Linked DNA regions of Homo sapiens: region 2 is linked to region 1. The links are contacts of gene promoters, found by promoter capture Hi-C in human tissues and cell types (Jung and others, 2019). All regions are on one chromosome and are shown on one strand. The core of a region is centred on a gene start or on the middle of the fragment in contact, and the rest is flanking DNA. Distances in the headings are between cores, read along the strand shown. Region 1 holds the start of HPN (hepsin). Region 2 overlaps LINC00904 (long intergenic non-protein coding RNA 904).

Evidence for each region. The method cuts DNA at HindIII sites, captures the fragments that hold promoters and counts their contacts. A contact is called where the count stands out against the background at its distance.
Region 2: a contact is called between a fragment that was not itself captured here and the fragment with the promoter of HPN in region 1, in 1 of the 25 tissues and cell types used here (lymphoblastoid cells).

Annotation. Positions count from the first base shown.
Region 1 is chr19:35,040,471-35,047,243 of GRCh38, forward strand. HPN (hepsin) reads left to right here and starts at 1,251. Exons shown (of 13, transcript NM_001384133.1): 1 at 1,251-1,402; 2 at 1,983-2,052. The coding sequence starts at 2,037. RefSeq lists an enhancer at 1-722. The HindIII fragment of the contact is 10,578 bases long and covers 1-6,773 here.
Region 2 is chr19:34,887,644-34,894,267 of GRCh38, forward strand. LINC00904 (long intergenic non-protein coding RNA 904) reads right to left here. Exons shown (of 6, transcript NR_187844.1): 5 at 5,701-5,813; 6 at 4,189-4,653. Among named protein-coding and RNA genes, the nearest start is that of LINC00904, 14 kb to the right of the region's middle. The HindIII fragment of the contact is 4,130 bases long and covers 1,714-5,843 here.

The DNA.
Region 1 (6,773 bases), core at 1-2,500:
CCCGTCACCTTCCCCCCATTCCCGTCCCCGAATCTTCGAGCCCGCTTTCCAGGGACCCTACCTGAGGGCCCACAGGTGAAGCCACTTAGTGCCTGATCTGTGTCGGGGTTGGGGGAGCCATGGGCTCAGGGGTGAGGGAGAGTGGAACGGAGCCAGGAAGGGAGGGGGTGCCGTGGAGGGAAGAGAATCGAGGCTGATGCTGGGGTGCAGGGGTGGCATGGGGTGTGTGGTGTGCCCAGCAGTGTGAGTCTCTGGAGAGGTGGGCGCTGGGGAGAAGGAGAGGGAAGGAGAGACGGGTATGGATGGAAAGGCAGAGGAAGCCAGGCTAAACCAGCGTGTCCCAATGAGGGGCCCTGGGCTGAGTGGAGGAAATGGGTGCGGTGGAGGTGGGTTTGGCTGGGCACAGCGGGCACGTGTGGGTAAGCGGGTGGGGCCGGTTGTGCGGGTGGCCTATCTGGGGCAAGCAGCCGAGGCCGACTGTGTCCGGCGTGTGGTTGAGCACGGGCAGGTGTCTGGCGGTGACCCTGCACGTCTGGTGTTTACCTGGCCCTGGGTCTGACGTGGGCCGCGCCTGGCTGCTGGCGGGACAGTGTGTTATCTGCCTGCGGACGCTTCCGGCCACTTGGCCTGGGCCTCTGCCCTTAGCGCTGTGTTTTCCCGGCCAAGCCCCCCATCCCCCCTATCTAGTGCTAGGACTTTCTGGCTCCAGAGGTCACCGCGGCCGGGCGGAGGCTGCCAAAGCAAACCAGCCCCGTGACTTGTAGGAAGCCAGCGGGGGAGGGGCCGGGGCAGGATGAGCAGGGCAGGCGGGAGAGGCTGGGGCTGGGGTTGGGGCCCAGGAATTGGGCAGGGAATTAGGCAGAGGTGCAGCAAGTGGCGGGCACAGCCAGGACCTGGGGCTGGAGGACGCAGAAAGGGCGGGGGGAAGGGTTCGCTGGGTGAGGGTGGAGTGGGCTTAGGGCAGCTGGGGCCCTCCATCTGATCTCTTCTGGTCAGACCCCCACCCTTCAGCCTGCACTTTCTCCCTAAACCCCCAGCCTCCGGCCAGGCCTGTCCCTGTTCCCACATCCCCGCAGACAGGCACACCTGGGTCCCCCTGGAGGTCCAAGGCAAGCCCCGTAGCTGGGCCCGCCTGGTCCAGCCCCCACAAGCCCGGCCCCATCAGCCAGGTGGCCTCCAGTGCTGCCAATCGAATGGTCCGGCCCCTCCCCGCCCCTTCACCCGCCCCTCGCCCAGCCCCCTCCTCCTCAGGTGAGGCAGCCTGGCCTAGCAGGCCCCACGCCACCGCCTCTGCCTCCAGGCCGCCCGCTGCTGCGGGGCCACCATGCTCCTGCCCAGGCCTGGAGACTGACCCGACCCCGGCACTACCTCGAGGCTCCGCCCCCACCTGCTGGACCCCAGGGTAAGGACAAGGGCCCCCAGACTCACAGTTCCAGCCCTGAGGACAGGGGTTCCCTCATCCCCCCACCCAGCCTAATGCCCACCTCCTAATAGAGGGGTTCCTGGGGACCTGAAGAGGGGGCACTATGACGTCCCCCCAAGCACCTAGGTGTTCTGTCCTGCTCTTCCTTCAGACTCAGCCGTTGGACCCCAGTCCTTTCCTCCCCAGACCCAGGAGTTCCAGCCCTCAGGCCCCTCCTCCCTCATACTAGGGAGTCCTGGCCCCCAAATTCCTCCTTTCCCAAGACTTATGATTTCAGGTCCTCAGCTGTCTCCTCCCTCAAACCGGGATCCTCAGTCCCCTGCTCCACCAGGCTCAGGCATGGGGGTCCCCATCCCTGCAAATCCAGGCGTCCCCCCGCTGCTGGTCAGACACTGACCCCATCCTTGAACCCAGCCCAATCTGCGTCCGTGATCACGGCGTGCTCTGGCCAAGGCCCAGTCCCTACAGCCTGCCTGGATGGACGCCTGGGACTGGGGGCGCCAGGACTGGGCTGGGCTGGGCTCCCCCAGGCCCTGCCTCCCCGTCCATCTCCTCACAGGTCCCACCCTGGCCCAGGAGGTCAGCCAGGGAATCATTAACAAGAGGCAGTGACATGGCGCAGAAGGAGGGTGAGTCCCCTTCCCTGAGCCCCAGCTTTGGCTCTGCCTGGCGCCCCGCCCTCTGTGCTCTTTTCTCTACCCTCTACTCTTCGGAGCCCCCTCTCTCTGGGCACCCCTCCCAGATGCATCCCCACCCCTGTTAGTCCTCCTCCACCTGATTAACTATTAACCACATTTTCTGTGCAGCTGTGCCACCACCAGCCTCCCTTCTACCCTATGTGACCTTCCTGGCGTGCTGCCTCAGTTTCCCCTCATCCCCCAGTGATTTCTCAGCTAACTCTGGACTTGTCCTCTGCTGGGGCTGAGGCGGGGAAGCTGTAGCTGTCATGGTTAAGGACACAGATTTGGAGTGAAACACACAGGCTTGCATTTGAATTTGCTCTTGCCATCTTTTTTGCTGTGTGATCTGGTGCAAGTGACATTATTCTTAGGGCTTTGGTCTCCCTCTGGGTCAAGCATGGATACCAGTCCTCCCTCTGTGAGGTTGCTGAGTGCATGACACACACCAGGCACTGGTCTGGGGCTCTGCATATAAGACGCATGCCATCAAGCAGAGCTGTCATGACAGAGGTTGGCAAACTCGGAGTCCCAGAGACCCAGGACCCCCACCGATCCCAGACATTCCTCCACCTCCTGGCTCTGTGGGCAAAAGAGCAGAGGGAGGACTTTGGACTGGGCCTGGATGGATGGAGAGGGGAGAGACGGCAGAGAAACCACCATAAGGATGAGAGAGAGAGACTGCGTCATGGAGTTGCTGGCCCTTGGGAGTCTCTGGGCAGCCCCCAGCTAGCCTGGCTTCCTTTCTACCTCTCACACATGGGACCCAGCTGGAGGGGCGCATGGAGGGGCGTCCTGTTCTTTCTGCCTTCCCCTAGCTGGGGCTGACTCCCTCTCTTCTTCCGCAACCAGGATAGCCGGGCTCAGTCCTGGGCAGTAGCACTTTCTAGCTGTGTGGCCCTGGGCAGACGGCGTGTTCTCCCTGGGCCTCCATTCTCTCATCTGTGAAATGGAGAGGGTGACAGTGCATGTCCAACAGCGTGGGGCGAGGCCTGAAATGCCAGGATGGGCAGGAAGCACTGAGCGTGTTGGCTGAAATGATTAGTTCAGATCTCTGGCCTCCTCGGGTCTCGGCACAGCTGGCAATTCAGACCCCAAACCAATCAGCTGCAGTCCAGAGGGAACCCAGGCTCCCAGTTACTCAGGAGAAGGCATTGCACCCTAGCCGAGCAGGTGGATGACAGAATCCAGCTCCTTGGGGACAATCTCTTTCCTGGAGCTGCCGGAAGGACAGCCCCAGGGCTTGGGCCCATGGGTGAATGAGCCAGGGAAGAAAAGCAGAAAATGCCCGAATGGACAGAGATGGCCTGGGTACAAAGAGAAACAGACACAAAGTGGGCTCTGGTGCCTCCCTGGCAGCTCCGGGCTGGTCTTGGAGGGGAGTCCTGCTGTCAGGGCTAGGGGTGTGGAGGTCGAACCTGGACACAGATGCTGAAGGGTTCCGATTCTGCACTTACTTGCCGGGTGACCCGGGTTTGGTGGCTGCCGGACTTTGGGCCTCCTTTTCTCATCTGTAAACTGGGGGTGATGGCAATGGCGCCTTCCTCGTGAACAGCTGCAAGGATTTAAGTAAGGATGCTGTGCAGGACTGGACGGGGTTAGGGTAGGGCGGTGCGTCCGTGTGTGATTCAGAGAGCCGTTGTGGCTGCAGCGGCTGCTGTTGTTGGTGTCACTGTTATTGCTGCTGGCTTCTTGGTGCTGCCTGGAAACTTGGAATTGGAGGAGGTGATACTGGAGTTGCAATTCCAAGGATGCCAGGCAGAGGGAAGAGCAAGGCTCTTGCTCTTCTCTGGGAAGCTGGGAGGTGACACAGCACTGGTGTGCACGTAGCCAATTGTGGTATTTCTGGAGGTGAAGCTGGAAGTTGAGCTGGGTGGGAGAAGAGGTGTGCAAGCTGGACCAGGCAGGGGTGGGACTGTTTTGGGGAAGAGCTGGCCAATTCCTTGCAGTACCAGGTCTCTCCACAAGGTGGCGCCAGTGGTTAGTCCCTGCTTCTCTTGTCTAACTTGTATTTTACAAGTTCTACTGTTTGGGTTGCTTTTTGGAAGCTCTCTCTGGTACCTGATAGTGACCCACATGGTTGTCTGAGAATTGGGGGAAACATACTCCCAAATCTCTGAAAGCCATGCTTATACCCTAGTGGGGCTGGAAATGCCAGGCTGAGGGACTTAAGCTGTCTGGGGGGTACTAGGGAGTCACAGAGGGTTCTATAGGTAAAGAGGGGACAGGTTGGATTTGGTGTCTCAGTAGGTTCCCCAAGCCTCCGTGTGGAGGGTGCGCTAGAAGGGAGACTGAGCCCAGCGGTTGGATGGGGCCGGAGCAAGGTGCAGATGGAGAGAAAGAAGGAAACGGGGGAAGGAGAGTCACTCAGGAGGATTGGCAGGCTGTCGGGGGAGGGGAATGTTATGCAGATGGGGATGGTCCTAGGAGTGAGGGCCTCTGAGACAGGACCGGGAGGAAGAATATACTTGGGGAGACATTGGGGAGACATTCTGGGACCTGGTAGGGGCAAAGGGACTAGGAGGTCCCAGGGAAAGGTATTTAAAAGGTATTTAAAGGACTGCAGGAGCCCTGACCTGGGACCTGGAAGAGGGTCTAGGGCTGGGGACAGAGGGGAAACTGAGTCCACAGAGGTGGGTGAGACAGACTTAGGGGCAAGGAGGAGCAGGGGGAGGCTGCGGCCAGCCCTACAAACTCTGGATTTTACGGAGTAGGTAGAGGGTGGGTGAAGACAGCAGCCTCAGAGGCGGGAAGGAAAATCAGGTGCGCCTGGTGTCCCAGAAGTCCAAAGAGGAGAGCATTTATACAGGAAGCTGCAGTCATGTAAGATGAGGCCCGAGACACGGAGCCACCAGTTGAGTGGATTTTCAGAGCCAGAGAGCCAAAGGTGTTACGCGTGGGGGTCTTTGCAGCCAAATGGTGGAGGCGGAAGAACTGACCTATGAGAAGACCCAAGGCATCCAGAGGGGCCTGGAGAAGCAGGGGCAGAGAGTCTCAGGGAGATGTAGGGGTGGGGGAGGTCTGGCTTACCAAGGGAAATAGCCCTGCTGCTGGGATCAAAGAATTGATGTTGACGTGCCGCCTGTCCCAGTAGAGACACGCAGGGAGGATGAGGATGCGTCCCACACCCTGGGCCAGATGAGGATGCTGCCTGTCCCAGTAGAGACACGCAGGGAGGATGAGGATGCGTCCCACACCGTGGGCCAGATGAGGATGCTGCCTGTCCCAGTAGAGACATGCAGGGAGGATGCCTCTCATACTGGGGGAACCCCAGGATGCAGATGCTTCCTGTCCCACTGGAGGCGCTGAAGTCCTCTGAACCACACAGCATGGAAGGAGGTTCTTCCTCTCACCCTAGGAGACACATACATAGTGGCATTGCTTCCTGTCCCACCAGATGTGCCAAGGCCTCTAGGCTGCATTCTGCATGGCCTAGAGCCCTGGCAGGCACAGCTGAAAACAAAGCAAGCAAGACCAGCCCAGTGGCTGTCGGGAGCCAAGACCTCCTGCTGGAACCTGGAGAGTGGTCCTGGGCAGAGTTGGGGGGCAGGCCTGAGAACCCCTCGCAGGACAGGCAGGGGTCAGCCGGCAGTAGTTGGGCTGGTCTGGCCCACTGGGGCCTCTTTTGGGGAAGAGAGTGTTTCCTCATGCCTTGATGGGAGCCACTGAGCTTTCAATTTTTTTTTTTTTTTAATACAGAGTCTCGCTCTGTTGCCCAGGCTAGAGTACAGTGGCGCAATCTTGATTCACTGCAACCTCCACCTCCCGGGTTCAAGCGATTCTCCTGCCTCAGCTTCCCGAGTAGCTGGGACTATAGGCGCCCGCCACCACACCCAGCTAATTTTTGTATTTTTAGTAGAGGCGGGGTTTCACCATGTTGGCCAGGCTGGTCTTGAGCTCCTGACCTCAAGTGATCCACCTGCCTCAGCCTCCCAAAGGACCGGGATTACAGGCATGAGCCACCATGCCCAGCCTGAGCTCTCAAATTCTTAAGACACCCAGATAATGGCCACACCAGGAAGGTCCTAGACCACTCCCTGCTCTGTTCCAGGTGCTGGCCTGGTGCCGGGTTCACCAGCCACATCACCATGGGTGCAGATGGGCGAGCTGGGAGCTCCTGCCACCTTGGGGTGCTTTGCGGCTGCCAAGGGCAGTTGAACCCAAGCCAGGCCCAGCTGAAGGCTTTCAGCAGCCTTTACTCTTTGGCCTTCTTATAATCCCTAGTGAAGGGGTTGGCTTTTATTTATTTATGTATTTATTTATTTATTTATTTTTTGAGACAGAGTCTCGCTCTGTCGCCCAAGCTGAAGTGCAGTGGCGCGATCTCGGCTCACTGCAAGCTCTGCCTCCCGGGTTCAAGCCATTCTCCTGCCTCAGCCTCCCGAGTAGCTGGGATTACAGGTGCCTGCCACTGCGCCCGGCTAATTTTTTGTATTCTTAGTAGAGACGGGGTTTCACCGTGTTAGCCAGGATGGTCTCGATCTCCTGACCTCGTGATCTGCCCACCTCGGCCTCCCAAAGTGCTGGGATTACAGGCGTGAGCCACCGAGCCCGGCTAGGAGTTGGCTTTTAATCTCCAGGACCTCTTTGCCCTGGGAATAAAATCCCTTTTCCTGTGCCACCAGGCCTCCCCAGCTGGCCCCAGCCTTGGTTCCCACTACCTTCCCCAAGCT
Region 2 (6,624 bases), core at 2,529-5,028, 150 kb before region 1:
CGGGTGGCCACAGAAAAGGTGCACCCAGCTCCTGGAACTGAAGAAGAGCTAGGGAAGCCCCTGGAGGAGCTGGTGTTGGAGCCTTGACCTACGAGCCTGGAGGAGTGGGGAAAGGTGGTGAGGGTGAACTGGTGTCATCTGCAGCAGTTGTCTGAAAGGAACAGGCTGAGGTAAATTTGCCCTGTGGCACTGAGGTGCCTGCAGACATGGAAGTGACAGTTATGTAGGCTCCTGGAGTTCAGTCTTGGAGAGTCCCACCTTGCCACCGAGACTGTCTGGTGCCAAACACCTGCAACCCATGATAGGAATGCCAAGAAGTACTAGAGAGTCCTGCTGGGGTTCAGCCTCTGGACCTCTTGCCCTTCGATGTTTTTCCTCATGCATTTTGCTGGCAATATGCCCTTAGCTGGGGCACTTTTTCTCTGTCGCATGTCCCGTGTGTCACATGCATCAAGCTGAACAGTACCTGGTTTGCCATGGAGGTAGCAGGTAGTGAGGAGACCTCTCCAAATGTCATATCCTCCAAGGACCCGGCAGCGCACAAACTGCCCTTCATAGGCAACTTGCTTAGCAAGGTTTGCCCCCATCCTGCTCGCATGCCTGGCCATGCTATCATGCACTCGTTCAACCTGACCCAGCGTGCTCCCCCTTCTGGCTGGGATCACTCCACTTTGGCTTTTTCCCTGGTAGTTCTACCAGGATCCTGGTGTCATATACCCCTAAAGGACAGTATCCCATCAGGAAACCTCAGTGTTCCTCTCTGGCGATCCTAAGGGGACTCTCTGAAAATGACATTGCTGTCTGCTTGTACCACAAAGTGGCCACTCCAGAATGACAAAGATCCCTCCTCCAAGGCACAAATGGACTCTCCTCCCTCGTCACCTCTAAGACCTGGGACAGCCACTCACACCTCCCCCCAGATCCTTGCTTAAAGGAGACCAAGAAGAAGATACCAGGGGCATGAAGGAAATGGATACTGAAGGAGGAAGATCCTCAGTGTGGGAGAAGACGCAGTTAGAGAAAAGGGGCCCCTATAGCAGTGGGAGAGTACCATCAGCATCTAGGTCCCTAGCAACCAGCAGTAGCATCACATATTTGGGAGCAGTCCTGAACCCCTGAAGATAAGCCTCTATTCCAATCACTCAGAAGACAGCTGAGGTTAGATTTTACAGATGTCTTCTATGAGTTCGTTCACAAAAGATCATGCCATCACCAGCCCAGATAGTCCTGCCTGCTAGAGGCTTCCTGCCTCTTCATGGCAGTGAAGGAGGTGCAGCAGCGCTGTATGGCCAGCCACATTCTCCTTCCTGCTGCCAGAGAAAGGAAGAGCTTGATGAAGGCCATTATCAACTCAGCTCTCCAGCCACATTGAAGTCAAAGACAGCAACTCACAGAGGAAAGCTTTCAGATACTCTGTCAATGAGAAATTCTCCACTCACATCTGCCAGTTGTAGTCTCTGTAAACAGAAATTGTCAGTGCCCCTGCTGCTGCCATTGCTGCCCCCATTGCCACTGTTGTGAGAGTGAGGAGAGCTGCCCCCATCTCCTACCTTCCCTGCATAGTTACTGCAGAAGACCTTAGCTTGGAGAACCCTGAACACGAAGGGAACCTCAGGGTGGGAGAATAATTCTCAGGTCCCTTCAGACAGCGTAGCAGCTCAGCCTTCCTGTTCTCCCTACCTGCTGTGGAGGCCACAGATCCTTTGCCATTGGTCACCTTTTCCTTGCAGATTCCAGAAACTACCAAATTAGCAGTCACTGACTTGGCTGGCCTGTTAGGCCACTCATACTCTCTGACCCTGTACCTACACACACATCAGATACTGATCATGAAATGAGATGCACAGTTCCTGACTCTCCTTTTGCTCTTCCTGCTATTTCTCACTTTGGATTCCAACCTATATTTGCTATTCCACTTAATAATGAGAACAGGGGCCCTCTGCATTCCAGTCCCTCGGTCATACTTGCGGGATCCTCTACTTCTGCCTAACCCACACGTCCTAGAACTTTCTCCCTCTCCTTAAAGCTTACCTTCTGCAGAATGGAGTCATATACACCTGTGCAGGTGGATTCTCCTCCCCTTTTCTTACAGACCCCTCCTCAAGTTGCTTGCACCAGTACCCCTGTCTTTACCAGCCAACCCATCACTGCTTCTGCAGTCACTTCTAGCATGCCAGGCAGCCTGTCTGCAGACTGGACTTCCCAGCCTGCCTGGACTGTGTTATAATTGATGTGGATAGTACTCTTCCTTCCAAGCTTTCTTCTTCAGGTCTCCCTCAAGATCCGGGGTGAGCTTCCTCCCATTGGACCAGGCCCATCCCAGTGTGGAGCGGATATCCCCTGCAAAGGCCATCATCCCCACCAGCCCACCTGCTTTTATGGTCAGCAGCCCTACTTGAACTTCTAAGCTTGCTTTTGATTCAGGAAACACTTACCAGCTGAAATCTGGGGGTCCTGATTCAGGGCCTTGCCAGAGAACCACTCCCCCCAGTGCCCTGTCTTTTCTGGCCCACCTACCACTGATTCTGCAGTCACCTCCACTCCAGTATACAACCCGTCTTCAGACTTGGTGTCTCCGCCTGACTTTGCCTCTAAGGAAATCAACATGGGTACCATGCCCATGTCCCCATCTGTTATCATCCTGTCTCTCCCTGCAATGTTAACAGCTGTTTCCCTTTGAGAAACCTGCCAGCCCCTGAAAACCCTTCACACTTAACCTCTACTGCAGCCCTAGAACCCAATGGCAGCACAACTCAGTTGGCTTTTGGGAACTAAACACTCCCGTGTCCACTTTGGCATCAATGTCAGCATTCAGGCAGCCCATGGTGGTGCCTCGGGTGTTTTACCCATTGGTGTGGACACTCTTACTCTTGCCATGAAATGCTACCAGAAAGCACAACACTGAGGACTGTTGCTCATTTCTTGCTGATGCCAATCCAAGCCAATTTGTATTTGTGGGATCTGAAGCCCTTATGGATAGCAAAAGCTTTGGGGTCATTGGGTCTACCACGCAGAGTCTACCACCACATCTAGATCGCTTAGCTTTGGAGCAAAATGGCTGGGGGACAGCCAGTACCACAGCTCATGATGGGGGAGGCTTAGACCTGAGCGCCAGGGTCCTGTCAGCCCTGATGCACTCCTGCTGCAATTGGAGAAGCCGGCACTGCTGAGAGCAAATCAAATCTGCCCTGGGAAACACTTTCCTTCCCACCTGTAGTTAGAGCACCTGGTGCCAGCCCAGCCAAAACACGCCTACTACTACTGGAAGATTTGTGATCACTGAGAAGGAGTGTTTCAGAAGACATGGCTGTTCCCCCTTTTGTTCAGATCACCTGGGACCTGTTTGGCCAGAGCACTTGTGTTCCAGTGGAAGGGACCAGCACCATACCTGTGCTGAGATCCTTCTCTTCCTGCCCCAGTCAAGCCACCTGGGGCACACCTAACTAAAGTACACCTGTTGCAGTCTAAGGGACCAGCACTGCATCTATGCTCGGATGCCTTTATGTTCCTACCTATAGCCAGAACACCTGAATCCCACCTGTCCAGGGCACGTGTGTTGCAATGGAAGGGGCCAACATCATACCTATTTTTAGAGAGTCTTCTCTTCCTGCATATGGTCTAAGTACTGGGGCCCACCTGGCCAGAGCAAACCTGCTGGAGATACCTGCACCACTGAGAAGAAATGCATGCCACGTGATATATCTGTTCATTCCTTCCATCAGACACCTAGGGCCCACCTGTGCTGTTTGAAGGGCTGGCATTTCACCTGTGATTGGAGATGCTACTGGCAGAGGACCTGGGGTACACAGTCTGGAGCACAGGTGATACACTGGGCGGAGGCAGCCCCATTCCTGGGCTCCAGGGTATTTGTATGCTCAGCATCATTGACAGCTGCTGGCGTGGTCTTGCCCAGGGCACATCTGTTACAGTCTCCCAGGAGAACACCATACATACACCTTTAGGAAGACACTTCTATTCCTGCACTCACTCACAATACCTGGGCTCTATCTAGACAAAGTAGCCCTCTGACTTGGTGTAGTGAACACCATTGAGAAAATACCTGGCTATGGGCCAGTTTTCCATTAGTCTTAGACTGGCAGGACCCCTTGCTGCCTATAGATATCCCGTTTTGTCTTGCCCATTTGCCTTAACAAGCCCCGTTCTTTCTTTTCCAGATTGCTATACAAATATGATATAACATAGCCTTGTTCTTATTCATTAATCCTCTGTGCTAAGCTTCAGCACTTTTGCTCCATCTTTCAGGGCAAATGTACCTCCAGCATGAGCATGGAAGCAGCAGTCTCGCTTAGGACACATTTGTCACCTGCCCAGGCTTCCTTTGGAGGCCAAAGTTTGGGATCACCAACTCATTCATTTTCTTCTAGTGAAAGAAACAATATCTCATCAACTTTAAGCAAAAGCTATCCAGAAGTAGCTGATAGTGGTGGGGGACCACAGTTTGCCATAAATGGACCTTGCTCCATTAGGAAGAGGCTCCACCTCTTCTAGTTATGTCAAACAAACTTAACCTGCCCTCTATCATCCTAAAGAAAGCTGGCAGCCCAACCCTTCAGGTGTTTTGTATATATGTTAAAGGGTGTGGGTTCAGATGAGACTGGTCAGAAGTCAACACACTGGCCTTGAGGCAGTCTACTGTGGAAAGAAGAAAAAGATCAGTAAGTATATCCACCACACCATACCCAGTTTCAACTTCTCAGTCTGGTAGAACCAAGCTATGGGCCAGTTTTCCTGCCATCTTACGCTGGCAGGACCCCTTGCTGCCTGTAGCTGCCTCCTTTGGTCCAGCCCATTTGCCTCAGTGGGCCCTTTTCTTTCTTTCCTAGACTGATAAACACACACACACATATATATATACACACACATATATGTTATATGTGTATATATATATACACACACATATAATGTATATGTATGTGTATATATATACATATATACATCACGTGTGTGTATATATATATATATAGAGAGAGAGAGAGAGAATGCCTTCCTTTTGTTCATTGATCCTCTCTGCTTACATGTCTTTTCTATTTTAGTCAACGGTGGAAGAAGAATTGACTTCTTTCTATAAGTGGTGCTGTGTTGAGGCAGATGTAACTTTTCAAAGTTCTATGGCTCAGCAAATAGGAGGTGGCATAGCCACACTTTACAACTGCACAGGCTGACATCTGACATCTCTGTGTTTTGATGTAAAGGATAGCAGCCATGAGGAAGGGAAGCTCAAAGGAGGAAGGGATGGGTGACCCTCCCTTGCCTTTTCCCTCTGTGCTCCTCTTCCATCACTCTGATTTGGTCGTACGCCAGACCACCCCCGATGTGTGTTAGGGAAACAAAATTAACAAATTTGGTTGAAAATAATTAAATGTCTCATTTGTGTCTTTCTCTTTCATTTAGACTTAAGAAAATCATCCCCACATATTCACACCTCGACCAAAGAGGATGGGTATGGTATAGAGGCCCTTATGTCTAGAAGAAAAAAAGGAAGAAAAAGCTCATGGCTCCTTTGTGATTATTGGAAATTTTAAGACTAGGATGTCACATATTATATAGAAGTGTTTTCATGCTCCATGAAAATTCAGAAAAGATCATTTTTTCAAGAAAATACCTAGATAAGGTCTATTTGGAAAAGTAATTGGTCTGGCTCTAGTATAAAACCCTAAAATAGCAAATTACAGTCCTTACCATTTTATCCAAATCTAGCTGGCTGTGGAGTCCTGCTGTGTCTCCAATAGACTTAATTCCTGAAAATACAATCTTTCCTAAGATAATTCAAGGTTCAGGAGAACCAGCTGAAGCTGGGGGAAAAAGAAAAATGTAAGCATTTCCCTTAGCTTAGACATATTATTTTACTAAATACTTATTCAGAGTTGATTCTACACTAGACATTGTGCTTGAGCCTAGTGACATATAGCTGAAAGGCATCTATTGCCTCAAAGGAATTTACAATATAGTAGGAGTGATGGGTGAATATATCAAAAGTAAAATCGGAGGGGTTACTAGTAGGGATATGGGAGCAGTAGGAACACAAAACTAAGAATATCATTTCTTCAGAAACTAACAGAACTAGACTAACAGCAATGAACAAAAAAAAATTGTAAATCCTTCCCTATCGATAATTACTTTAAATATAAATAGATTAAATTTCTCAATCAAAAGACACAGAGTAGCTGGATGGATAAAAAGAATTACCCAACTATATTCTGTTTACAGGAAACTCACTTTAGATTTAAGGACATACATTGTTTGAAAGTGAATGAATGGAAAAAGATATTCCATGCAAATAGTAACCAGAAGTGAGTCAGGTGGCTACACTTATATTAGACAAAATAGACTTTAAGTCAAAAACTACCGTAAGAGACAGCAAAGGACATTATATAATGATACATGGGTTAATTCATCAGGAAAATATAACAATTATAAATATATATGAACCAAACATAAGAACACCTAAATATATAAAGCAAACATTGGCAGGAATAAAGGGAGAAATAGACACTTTATAATAATAATAGGAGACTTCAATTCCTAACTTTCTGTATGGATAGAACATGCAGACAGAAGATCAATTAGTAAAATCAAGACTTAAACAACACTGAAGACCAAATA